Regions from separate parts of the Homo sapiens genome. Here regions 1 and 3 are each linked to region 2. The links are contacts of gene promoters, found by promoter capture Hi-C in blood cells and fetal thymus (Javierre and others, 2016). All regions are on one chromosome and are shown on one strand. The core of a region is centred on a gene start or on the middle of the fragment in contact, and the rest is flanking DNA. Distances in the headings are between cores, read along the strand shown. Region 1 holds the start of ADRA2B (adrenoceptor alpha 2B). Region 2 overlaps KANSL3 (KAT8 regulatory NSL complex subunit 3). Region 3 holds the start of STARD7-AS1 (STARD7 antisense RNA 1).

The links. Contacts are between HindIII fragments. The CHiCAGO score rates a contact against its expected background, and 5 or more counts as called.
Region 1: a contact is called between the fragment with the promoter of ADRA2B here and a fragment that was not itself captured in region 2, in 4 of 17 cell types (total B cells, M0 macrophages, fetal thymus and 1 more). The highest score is 6.9, in total B cells.
Region 3: the fragment with the promoter of STARD7-AS1 here is called in contact with a fragment that was not itself captured in region 2 in 1 of 17 cell types (non-activated CD4 T cells); the score reaches 5.2 in non-activated CD4 T cells.

Annotation. Positions count from the first base shown.
Region 1 is chr2:96,115,267-96,119,479 of GRCh38, reverse strand. It overlaps ADRA2B (adrenoceptor alpha 2B), which reads left to right and starts at 2,909. Exons shown (of 1, transcript NM_000682.7): 1 at 2,909-4,213. The coding sequence starts at 3,331. RefSeq lists silencers at 2,080-2,149, 2,190-2,649, 2,660-2,819, 2,920-3,009. The HindIII fragment of the contact is 8,066 bases long and covers 1-4,213 here.
Region 2 is chr2:96,615,197-96,619,355 of GRCh38, reverse strand. All of the region lies in intron 5 of KANSL3 (KAT8 regulatory NSL complex subunit 3), which reads left to right. Among named protein-coding and RNA genes, the nearest start is that of KANSL3, 21 kb to the left of the region's middle. The HindIII fragment of the contact is 2,315 bases long and covers 639-2,953 here.
Region 3 is chr2:96,206,921-96,211,152 of GRCh38, reverse strand. STARD7-AS1 (STARD7 antisense RNA 1) reads right to left here and starts at 2,737. Exons shown (of 4, transcript NR_046322.1): 1 at 2,174-2,737. STARD7 (StAR related lipid transfer domain containing 7) reads left to right here and starts at 2,326. Exons shown (of 8, transcript NM_020151.4): 1 at 2,326-3,008. The coding sequence starts at 2,719. RefSeq lists silencers at 2,080-2,299, 2,650-2,909 and an enhancer at 2,042-2,632. The HindIII fragment of the contact is 17,331 bases long and covers 1-4,232 here.

The DNA of each region.
Region 1 (4,213 bases), core at 1,660-4,159, 500 kb after region 2:
AAAGTGGTGCCGCCTGGCGTCGAGGAACCTGGAGAATGGAGGTCCTCCCTCTGCCTGAGAGCCTGGTGACTGGTGAGTGGGCCTTGAAATGTGAGTAGGAGCCCACCAAACACAGAAGGAAGGGTGATAGGGCATCTCTATCAGAGCAAACAGCCCCAGGGAAGGTCTAGAGAGTGGAGACCCAGGGCACATTCAGAATCCAACACTGGCCTGGCGGGGCAGGGATGGAGGGCTGGGATCCAGGTTGTGCCCTGCTGCCCACTCCCCTGCTATGTGTCTGGGAAAGCTCCGGCTGCTCCTGCTGCTGGCTGTTGCTGGTCTGGGACTGAACTATGCCCGTTCCTGTGGAACAGGATGACAGTGGAAGGTCAGGTCTAGTTTGGGAAGAGCTGAAGGAAGCCTTGCTATGCTAGTAGGCTCCAATTCCTGCACCTGGCAGCCTCATGGGGCTGGTTGGAGCAGGCAAGGCCTGAAGGTGTGTGTGTGCGGGGGGAGATGGTGAGCCGCCGAGAGGAGCAGGAGCTGAGTTATGTTATGGCCTGCGTGGCCGTGGAGAGCTGGCGCACCCACGCTGCACTTGTCCATCCTGGGGTGGAGCCAGGAGGAGACAGCTGCAGTAGACGGTGACAGCCTGGGGCAGCGGTATGGATGCCAAGGCAGCTCCTGCTGCCCGGAGGGCACACATCTCCCAGGTCTGCCAGCTGTAGACTCTGTCCCTGGCTGTCCCCACCTGGCCTAGTGCCTAGCTGGCCCAATGAAAGATGCCTAGCAAGGCTTGGCACTCAGTAGACCCAAAGTTGTCACTTCTAGGAAGGCCCAGGTAAGCGTCCTCAGTGGGGACTTGCAGGGTGGGGAGGGCACACGGGCAACCCAGTCTCAGCTCCTGCAGCATCCCTTGAAGGAAGATGGGTCAGAAGACAAAGGCTGATGCTGGCTGCAGAGTCTGGGGAGCTGCTCACTGGCCCCCAGCCCAAGTGTGGTTGGAGACAGTGGAAAGGCGGTTCCTCCCGATGCCCATGTGGGCCTCTAGCAGGCCCAGACTGTGAAGGCCTTGGGAGCCCCTGGATAGGCAGGCACCTGCCTAAGTAGCTGCTCCCAGGCTCTCATGGCCACCCTCTGTCCTTCCTCAGGGAAAGAGCTACTGGCATCTCTCCATCACTGGTTATGTATGCCCAGGCGGCGCCCAGGCCCTGCCCAGCCCAGAGGGTGGGAAAGACACATCCAGGAAACTGTGTCTAGCAGAGTGGTCGGTTTTGAGCTGAAGCCTAGGGTTGGGGGTGGGAAGGAGGCTGATTGCCCTGTCCGAACCCAGCCCTGGCAGCATCCACCCCATGGGCTGTGGGCACTTGCACCTCACCAGAAGCTGGGGAGTCTGGCAGAATGACAGGGATGGGGGGATCAAGGAGGCACCTACTCCCAACACACCCCCGTGGCTGGGGGTGCTGGTCTGGGTACCTGAGACGGGGCACCTCCCACCTGAGCCTGGGGAGGCGCTAGACATTGTCCGTGGGCACTGAGAGGCCACGTGCTCTGCTCCCATGGAGGGAGCAGGGAGGAGAGGAGGTCCAGCAGGTTGGACGGGGCCTGGGGGAGCCCCACTGTCAGAGGTGGATTGGTGCTTATTTATACAGAGGATGCCTTGCAGAGTCGTGGGCTGTGAATAAGAGGCCTGGCTCGAGGCGGGGCTTATGACATTAGGGGCTCCAGAACCGGGGAAACATGCCCTCAGGGCTGCCCAGGCTGGTGCTGGTGGCGGTGTGGCAGGGAGAGTGAGTTGGGGCCCTGAGGGAGAACAGTTGCTCATAGCGCTTTGAAGGCGAGTGGGGGGCCTTAGTCTGAAGTTTCTTTTTACCCCAACCCTCTTTCCACTGTCACCCCCAGAAGGGCTTCAGTGTGTATGTGGGGCAGGACCGCAGCAGGGAGGGAGGGTCAACCCCTTCCCCCGGGGTCACTACAGAAGCGGAGGGACGCTCCTCTCTTCACGGCTGCCCCTGAGACCTGCTTTTTCTCGGAGCTGTGTGACAAAGTCCCCACCCTTTACTCCCCCACGGCAAGGAAGGGACCTCCCCTTCGCATTAGTCAAGGGGCGGCAGCTCGCCCTGTGCCCCGTACAAACCCTTGGCTGAATCGCAGTTGATGCTGTGATTCGAGTCCAAGCCAGTTTCCCTGTTACCTCCTTTGCCCTTAATGGAGGAAACTGAGGCAGCTGCGGAGACACAAGAAGCCGAAGTCCTAAGACCCAGGCTGCGAGCGCTGGCTCCGGGACCCGGGCTGCCGCTGACGGGCTGGGCCCGCGGGCGGCAGCAGGGGGCGCTCGCAGGCCGGGACGCGCCCTCCTCGCGCGGCGCTGGCCCGACGGAGCTGGTCCGCGAGGGGCAGCGCCTGGGAAAGGGTCGGGACCGGCTCCCCGCTCCCCGCTCCCCCACCTCTCCGCAGGGCGTCTCCACGGCCGAGCCGGGCGGGGTTGTGGTGTATTGCGACCCGGCGCCCCAGCCCCACGCCCGCCCTGCCCTCCCTGCGGGCTCCCGAGCGGCGGAAGGCAGAGCAGGGCGCACCGGCGCCGGGCCCAGCCCGGTTCCCCCGGGAGAAGTGTCCCGTCCCGGTGCCGGCCCGCGCGCTAGCTCCGCGTCCCGGCTCCCGGCACCCACCGACCCCTCCACAGCTGCGCGCGTCCTGCCTGGGGGCCGGAGACCCCGGCCGCCGGGCCCCTCCGCTCTCCCGAGGCGCGGCCGCCGGGAGGAAGGCAGGTAGAGGCGCTGGGCGGGGTCCGGGCGCGGGAAGTCCCGGGCTCACGCCTCCCGCGAAGCGCACCTTCAGCCCACCTCGGTCCGCCCACCGCCCCGCCTCCCGCCCGCTCCCGCGCCCGCCTCCAGTCTCCGCCTTCCTCCAGCCGCTCTCCCCGCTCCCCACTCCCCTGCAGGCGCGGCTGGGGCGAAAGCCTGCGAGCTGAGCGGGCGCAAGGTCCTCCGCGCCTCCTTTAAGAACCGGCCCAGCCCGGCCCGCGCCCCCAGAGCGTACGGCATCCGCGTGGCGGGAGGGCGCGACTTTCTCCGGTCCCGGGCGGGACGGGGACGGCGGCGGGACAACTTGGGAAACTTCTCTGGGGCGGACGGCAGGGACCCCGGGCACCGGTGGAGGAGGATGTAGGAGGGCGGCTGCTGGTCCTGGGTGTTCCCGACCTCCTAGGCCCCGCTCGTCCAGGCCATGGGGCTCCAGCGCCCTCGGCGCCGCCCGAGGGGCGACGCTCTTGTCTAGCCGAGCCGGGCAGCGCTGTCGTCCACGGTGCGCACTGGGCGGGCAGCGCTCCCTCTGCCCACCTCCCGCCCCGTCATGGACCACCAGGACCCCTACTCCGTGCAGGCCACAGCGGCCATAGCGGCGGCCATCACCTTCCTCATTCTCTTTACCATCTTCGGCAACGCTCTGGTCATCCTGGCTGTGTTGACCAGCCGCTCGCTGCGCGCCCCTCAGAACCTGTTCCTGGTGTCGCTGGCCGCCGCCGACATCCTGGTGGCCACGCTCATCATCCCTTTCTCGCTGGCCAACGAGCTGCTGGGCTACTGGTACTTCCGGCGCACGTGGTGCGAGGTGTACCTGGCGCTCGACGTGCTCTTCTGCACCTCGTCCATCGTGCACCTGTGCGCCATCAGCCTGGACCGCTACTGGGCCGTGAGCCGCGCGCTGGAGTACAACTCCAAGCGCACCCCGCGCCGCATCAAGTGCATCATCCTCACTGTGTGGCTCATCGCCGCCGTCATCTCGCTGCCGCCCCTCATCTACAAGGGCGACCAGGGCCCCCAGCCGCGCGGGCGCCCCCAGTGCAAGCTCAACCAGGAGGCCTGGTACATCCTGGCCTCCAGCATCGGATCTTTCTTTGCTCCTTGCCTCATCATGATCCTTGTCTACCTGCGCATCTACCTGATCGCCAAACGCAGCAACCGCAGAGGTCCCAGGGCCAAGGGGGGGCCTGGGCAGGGTGAGTCCAAGCAGCCCCGACCCGACCATGGTGGGGCTTTGGCCTCAGCCAAACTGCCAGCCCTGGCCTCTGTGGCTTCTGCCAGAGAGGTCAACGGACACTCGAAGTCCACTGGGGAGAAGGAGGAGGGGGAGACCCCTGAAGATACTGGGACCCGGGCCTTGCCACCCAGTTGGGCTGCCCTTCCCAACTCAGGCCAGGGCCAGAAGGAGGGTGTTTGTGGGGCATCTCCAGAGG
Region 2 (4,159 bases), core at 547-3,046:
AGGCTGTGATTGGGGTCTGCCCTGTCCTAGGGATAGCCATCCTCCCCTGTGGGTTCAGGATGTGGGGTTAGGCAAAGTAATTATCTGGTCGGTCTGGAGTGCATGGCCAAAACTAATGGGTTTGGTACTAAAATTGGGAGACAGGGTATCATTTCACATTTGTGTCTGGTGTAAACGTTTTCAGCCCTGCTGGCTCCAGGATGAGGTATGGGGCCTGAAAACCAGAGTATACATTTAGCCTTCCTAGCCTTGCAGCTTGTGGTTTGAGTCATGGCTGAATTGAATTATCATGAAGGAGACGAAGGGTTTACCAGGGAAGAGTTTGTTGAGAAAGGTGACAGAAGCAGACCCTTGGTGCTCGGAGCACTGGGAGATTGCAGAGCAGGAACGTGCCGTGATGCCTTCAATTCTGCTCCCCAGGGCATGAGCCTTTAGTAGCAACACTTAGACTTTTATAATTCAGTACAAACATATCATTATAGTTCCCTGCTTTCTTACTTAGTATTGCACAAAGTTAAACTGTTTTTCTTGGTGATTCCAGTGATTGCATCAGGCTATCGTCAATGTGGTAGAATGCGGATGCTGGAGGCAGATTGCCTGGCTGATCTCAGCTTTGTTACTGATTAGCTGTGTAAGCTTGGACTGGTGTCTCATCTCTAAAATGTGGCTGATAATAATAGCTATCTAGGATTTTTATGAAAATTAAATTAGTTAATTCAGGTAGGGGGCTTAACACAAAATTGGGCACATAGTAAGCAGTGAGCCCACAGTAATTATTATTACTAATATTAACAGTTATTTAAGTAGTACCCTCATAGGTTCTTGAAATATTTGGGGTGTTTTGCTCCAATACAAAATGGCCTCACGGCCGGGCATAGTAGCTCATGCCTATTATCCTAGCACTTCGGGAGGCTGAGGCAGGAGGATCGCTTTAGCTCAGGAGTTTGAGACCAGCCTGAGCAACATAGCAAGACCTTGTCTCTACTAAAAATAAAATAATTAGCCAGGCATGGTGGCACACGTCTGTAGTCCCAGCTAGTTAGGAGGCTGGTGGGAGGAGGCTGTAGTGAGTTCAGTCCCACCACTGCACTCCAGCCTGGGTGACAGAGGGAGTCCCTGTCTCTAAGAAAGAGAGAGAGAGAGAAGAGAAAGAACCAAATCAATCCAAGTTGTCTGAGGCCTTTTTTTTTTTTCTTTGGAGACAGGATCTTCCTCTCTCACTCAGGCTGGAGTGCAGTGGCACTATCATTGCTTGCTATAACTTCGAACTCCTGGGCTCAAGCAATCCGTCTGCCTCAGCCTCCCAAGTACTGGGACTAGAGGTGTGTGCTACCACCACACCCAGCAAAGAAATTTTTTTTTTTTTTTTTTTTGAGACAAAGTCTCACTCTGTCGCCCAGGCTGGAATGCAGTGGCACGATCTCGGCTCACTGCAACTTCTGCCTCCTGGGTTGAAGCAATTCTGCCTCAGCCTCCTGAGTAGCTGAGACTACAGGCGTGTGCCACCCCGCCCAGCTAATTTTTTTTGTATTTTTAGTAGAGATAGGGTTTCACCATGTCTCGATCTCCTGACCTCGTGATCCGCCCGCCTCGGCCTCCCAAAGTGCTGGGATTACAGGCGTGAGCTGCCGTGCCCTGCCACACCCAGCTAAATTTTTAATTTTTTTGTAGAGACGGTCTTGCTATAGGCTCGTCTTGAATTCCTGGCCTCAAGCAGTCCTCCCATCTTGTCCTCCCAAATTGCTGGGATTACAGGCATAAGCATGATTCAGTTTTTGACACTTTTTTTTTTTTTTTTAATAGTTTTACTTTCTGCTTCACAGGAAGCTGGCTCATCTTGCTGCTGTAAGTTGCCTGGCCAACACGTTCCCTCAGCCACATCCCCAAAACTTGCAGACTCATTGTTTCTTATGTGTTTTTAAGTTAAAGGGTGCCAAGTTTGTTAGAAGACTGGTTTAGTGCTGAAATAAAACTCAGGACTAGATACATTAATGATATTCATGGTAGGAAATTTGACACTAGTTTTTTTGTTTAACTAATACTTATTTTGGGCCCTACGTGTGTCAGGTACTGGGGTGAGCAAAACAAAACTGGTCCCTTCTCTGGTGGAGTGTATTTTCTAGTGAAGAAAGAGACAAATGAAAAGGGAGTCCCAGACTTTCCCCTGTACTGCTCCCCTGTAGTAGAAACCCTGGACCCGGGAGGTGAGTGGTGGGCAGGTAGAGTGTGGGGCCCAGACTGGATCCTGGCAGACAGAGAGTGGTGGCCCAGAAGTATCGTAGGCATCTTCACATATGTTCTCCTCAGCATTCTACCTACGGTAAAAGTGTAACATTGGTGAATACACTGTAGGAGATGAGTGTTGGTAGTGGCCAGGGTCTCAGTTCTCTGGTGACCCTGCTTCACTCACTGTGGCTAGCATAATTTCCCTTTAAGGAGGAATTTGTACTGCTGCCCTATTTAAGTTACTGACTGGACATCTCCTGGGTGCATGTCGGATATTATGAGCATGGCAGACCACTGGGGGGACTCCATAGCATGCATAGTTGGGTGTTTTCCTCCCATGCTGCTGGGCCACGGTGTGGGTTGACTGGAATAGTGGAAGGCTCGCTGGTACACCAGTCAGCAAGGGCCTCAGACTCAAGGCAACATCCTCTCTGGGCTGTGCTCTCCGCAGTGGTTCCTCTGCCATCGGACTCTTATTTTCCCATGACTATATTTAGATTCACAACAAATACTTTGGTTGTTTCCCAAAGGATATAAATGATTATAGGATTGTTTTACTTTTAAAGTGCCTGCTGGATGTGAAAGCGCAGGTGGATGGGATCATGCTCTTCACCCAGCTACTTTCACTATTAGATCCATTATGATAAAGAGGGCAGAGAAGGTATAGACCTTAGCCTTTTAATTGGCTGTTGAGAGTGAATGCAATGCTGGAAGGGCCAGGGAAGCTTGGTCTTCCCAGCTCCAAGTGGAAAAGTCAGTATTGATTTTTTATCCCTTGTTGACAGGAAGCAAGTGTCAAGGCTTTTTGGTTTCAAAGCTATATACTACTGTTAGATAAAGCTTAACCCAGGGTCACATCCTTTGCCTCAAAGTGTTGAGTGGCTCACAGTTCTAGAGTGAGTTACAAAGAACATGAAGATCCTTTGCAGTTTGGTCTTATCCTTTGCGGTTTGGTCCTATCCTTCCTACTGGCTTTTTACATCCTCCTCCTTCCTTACTTGCATCCTTGACTTTTGTCCATCTGTGCCTGGAATAAGCTCTACACATTCTTGCCTCTTGCTGGTGTCTCTGATGGGAAGGCTTTTCTCTCATCTTCTGTTGGAATCCTGCCTGTTCCAAAGAGCCTGTCTCATTTCACATGCTGTATCTTTAGATGAAAATTGCCTCTTAACTTCTTCTCCATTGGGTGGTTTGAATCATAGCAGTTTGGGCTTCTGTTTCTTTCATGGCAGTTATCGGTCTTTCCCTATTCCTGTCCCCCACCATTATTTGTGTGTTTGTCTTCCTTACCTCTTGTAGATTAAATTCCTCTGCAGTACTAGCCTGGTACCTTGTAAAAGCAGTTGCACGAATATTTCTTTCCTGAGTTAAACTGAGAAAGTCTAATGGTTATAATTCTCTAATTTCTCATACAGAAATCCTTTTAGTGTCCCTGTTTTTAAATTAAGAGCAACTTATCTTCTGCTATTTTTGGAGTTTTACAACTTGCATCAAACCGTAGTACTTTTTATTCTCCAATTTTTCAAAACCTTTTTCTTTCTCTGAAAACTGCCTCTAATATTTAAACATTTTTCCTTTCCCCTAGGTCATTTTGACCTTTTGTGGGTAGCATGGAATTCGCAGATATTTCTTCTCAGTGTAAGCATCAACATGTCTGAAACCTATATTTGCACATCTGTAATGTCACATTTCTGGTAGATAGTAAAAAACAGACATGAGATAAAGTACACTGTATATAGTATAGCAGGATATATATTTTTGTACATAATAACAGATTTATTTAGTACACCACAGCTTGAAGGCAGTACTCTAGAAGAAAATGGAGATTTAAAAATATTATAAAATCAACTGATACTCATTGAGGAAATTTAGGGAACATAGAAATCTGTAAAGGAAAAAGTCACCCATAAACTCCATAGAGATCATTATTAAC
Region 3 (4,232 bases), core at 1,488-3,987, 410 kb after region 2:
CTTTACTTACCACAGGTCAGGAACCTCGTACAGGGACTGTGTTGACATAGTATGAGGCCAGATTTCCCAAGGGGCTCTATAAGTCAATTTTTTGGCTTATTGGCTCTATAAGTCAACTTTGTTTTTTTTTTTTTTGAGACGGAGTCTCGCTCTGTCGCCCAGGGTGGAGTGTAGTGGCGCGATCTCGGCTCACTGCTGCAAGCTCCACCTCCCGGGTTCACGCCATTCTCCTGCCTCAGCCTCCCGAGTAGCTAGGATTACAGGTGCCCACTACCACGCCCGGCTAATTTTTTGTATTTTTAGTAGAGACGAGGTTTCACCGTGTTAGCCAGGATGGTCTGGATCTTCTGACCTCGTGATCCGCCCGCCTTGGCCTCCCAAAGTGCTGGGATTAAAAGTGTGAGCCACCATGCCCGGCCTAGAGCTCTTTTTTCTAAGAAAAAATCCTTTTAAGGCCAGGCACGGTGGGTCATTGAATCGTGAATTCAATGGGTGGTCTCTGAGCAGTCACCCTGAATCAGGCCTGTTAAACTTCTTTCAGGGCTCACTGAATGTGACTAGATAAATAAGGAGTGTTCTCCAAGTTAGGCCTGCTGGATTTTCATCAGCAATTCCTTCAGAGATCCCCTCCATATATACAAACACACACACGAAGACAAGACAGACAGAAGGCCTTCCAAATTAAGGTCCCTAACCAAGAACTCCAAGAGTACCCCTTCCAAACTATCCTCCTATTCTCCATCTGACAAATCTCCCTGAAATATTCCTGATTGAGAAGTCTCCCGAACCAAGACTCTTCCTAGTTAGGGACAGCCAACTGGGATGCCCCAGGAGCCAAACTGAGACAGACACCCCATGGTGGAGCTACAGACACCCACCATGTGGCTACAGAATCAGTCCGGAGAAGGAAGGAGGCACTGGCAGCACCTAGGATACTCAGCAACCTGCCACCCCATGATGGGGCTATAGCTACAGACACTCCATGACCTGGCTACAGCGCCCCGCTATGGAGCTACAGATACCCTGTGACAGGGCTACAGTTATGGGATGTCTCCCCAGGACTATTTCTCCATTGCGATTAAGTCCATGCATATTGGGCTAGCAGTGCCCCACTGGCAGAGACGGTGCCAGAGTTAGCCCCTAGTCCAAGAGAACTATGTGGCCGCTTAGGCTGGCCTCTGGATCTGTCACCAGAGGTGGGGCTACCGAACCATGGACAGGTAGCCACAAGGGGTATCCCAGACGAACCCCCAAATTTGTAACCGTACAATGGGTTCACCTTGCCCACTGCCTAGACAGAGCCGATTTATCAAGACAGGGGAACTGCAATAAAGAGTAATTCACGCAGAGCCCACTATGAGACTGGAGTTTGTTTCAACATTACTCAATCAGTCTCCCTTAGCATTCCGGGATCAGAGTGTTTAAGGATAATTTGGTGGGTGGGGGAAGGCCAGTGAGTCCAGAGTGTTGACTGGTTGGGTCGAGATGAAATAATAGGGAATTGAAGCTGTCCTCTTGCACTGAGTTGGTTCCTGGGTGGGGGCCACAAGGTCAGATGAGCCAGTTTATCCATCTGGGTGGTGCCAGGATCCAACCAGTGCGGGGTCAGCAAAATATCTCAAGCACTGATCTTAAGAGCAGTTTAGGGGGATCACAATATCGTAGCCTCCAGCTGCATGACTCCTAAACCATAATTTCCAATCTTATGGCTAACTTATTAGTCCTACAAAGGCAGTCTAGTTCCCAGATAAGAAGATTTGTTTTGGGAAAGGGCTGTTATCCTCTTTATTTTAAACTATAAACTAAGTTCCTCCCAAAATTAGTTCACCTAAGCTCAGGAATGAACAAGGACAGAAGCAAGATGGAATTGGTTAGGTCAGATCTCTTTCACTGTCTCAGTTTTAATTCTGCAATGGCGGTTATCACTGGGAGCCCCCAGCCCCCGCAGAGACATGCGGAGCCCCGCCCCCACCCTGCACTCTAATAAAGAAGGGGGCCAGCGTGCCGGCCTCTTAAAACAAGTTAACACCTGGCAGGATTCTAACAGGAACCTGGCCAGGTTTCTCCGCGGGGCGGGGCTGGGACGGCCGGAAGATGGCGGCGACGGCGGCAGCCGGGTCCGAGGGTCACTCTCCAATGCGCCCTTGACGGCTCTCGCCGCCGAGCCACCTACCTTGCTAGCAGGCGGCCTCCGCGCATGCATGAAGGGGCAGGAGGGGGCGGTGACGAGCACTTCACGGCGCCAATGAGCACCCAGGAGCCCAGGTCGCGCCCAATCACGGCCCAGGTGGCGGAGAAAAAGTAGGGTGCGCGCGCGCCGCGCGTGTGGCAGTCGCGGAAGGCGCGGGAGCTTGCGTGCTGCTGGGCCTGAGCTGTCTGTCTCGTTTCTGTCCGCGCGCCCTGCATCCCGGCCCCGGGCGCCCGCTGGAGGTCGCCGAGGAGCCACAGGGCTGACTGGTCTGCTGCCCGGGCCCAGGAGTGCCTGGTGTAGCAGTCGCGGAGCCATCCCGGCGTCTGCTGCCATGACCGACTCTCCCCTCAGAGGAGACTCTTCCTCAGCGGTGGCTGCAGAGACAGATGAGCGGCGGCTCCTGGCCGCGGGACCGTGAGACGGGTTCGTGGCCGGCCATTTAGGGGGACGCTGCGACCACCGCCTGCGCCCCTCCGGACTGGTTCCTTGGGCCCCGGAAGCTCGCGGCGGGCCCTGCGGGAGGCGGCATGCTCCCGCGGAGGCTGCTGGCCGCCTGGCTGGCGGGGACGCGGGGCGGGGGCCTGCTGGCGCTTCTGGCCAATCAGTGCCGCTTCGTCACGGGCCTGCGCGTGCGGCGCGCGCAGCAGATCGCGCAGCTCTACGGCCGCCTCTACTCCGAGAGCTCACGCCGCGTTCTCCTCGGCCGCCTCTGGCGCCGGCTGCACGGCCGTCCTGGCCATGCCTCTGCCTTGATGGCGGCGTTAGCCGGCGTCTTCGTTTGGGACGAGGAGAGGATCCAGGAGGAGGAGTTGCAGAGGTGGGCGCTGCGGCGAGCTCTTTCTGGGCCGTGGGGTGGGGGGGCTTGTGAACCCTGGGGCCTGCCCTGTGGTCGTTGGCCCTTGTTTACCCGGTGGTCTTTTAATTGGCAATACAGTCGATTGAACCTGCTTCAGCAAACCGCGTTGTTATTTGTCTCTGTGTGTCAATTTGCATTTGTCGGGTTATAAAATAGAACTGAAAGTGTGTAGGCTGGTGTGTAGGAGGGAGACTTTGAGTGGGGCGAGCAAGACAGTAAAGAAACAACACTGTAGAAATCAATTAGATAGCGAAGGCATGGAGGCCCTTGTTCATGTAATCTGTAATCTTTAACACAACCAGAAAGGTGCAAATTCAAAACAAATTTTAAATTTGGCCTAAGGGTGGTGGGCTGCTATTTGCAAAATGACTTCAATCCAGATGGGACTCAGGCCTGTGAGAAAAGCCAGGAGAGCCCTCTGTCATCGTGACTCGTGGCAAAATTGAGAGCCTGGAAGCGATTTTGTCCAGGTTACACAAACCAGCAGCCCAGACATTTGAACCTGTAAGAATTAGGTCAGATTTTTGCGACGTTAACTAGAACTTTGGGAATAGTGTCCCATTAGACTCTGAAGTCATGCTGTCGTCATCAAAACTGTGAAAAGCCCAGTACCATTGATTACGTTTGTTAATCTGTAGTTCTGAGACTGTAGTTTCCAGGTAATGTCATGGGGAAACTTTGCTTTGGTTTTTGGTTTACCTTGTGTCTGTATTTTCTTTGCAACAGATATTCTTAAACTGTGCCCTCCCTGCACAGAAAGTACTTTGCCGTGATTTCGGGAACCAGAGACAATCCCCTCCCTCCGCAGATTCCACACTCGCCTGTTTATTCTTGATATTTCCTCCACAGGGAAACAACCTGTTATTCCACATTTTTTGTTAGGTTAAAAATGGAAATACCCCAATAAAGTTTATACCATGGCCTGTGTGGGAGGTGTAACACCCAGATGCCAGGCAGCTATTTGTGCCACACTATGAATTGTGGGTAAATGCAAGTCTATCTTAAGAACTGGGAATACTTTTCCTAGCAGGAAAGATAACTTTTATAAATGCAACTTAAAATAATAACCACAAACAACCTTATTCACAAAAAAGTTAAGCTATCAAAGCGTGATAGGTATTTTGCCTAGTTCCTATTAGTATTCTTTTGCTACTTGGCCATTGGTTATAATCACAGTCTCTTGGG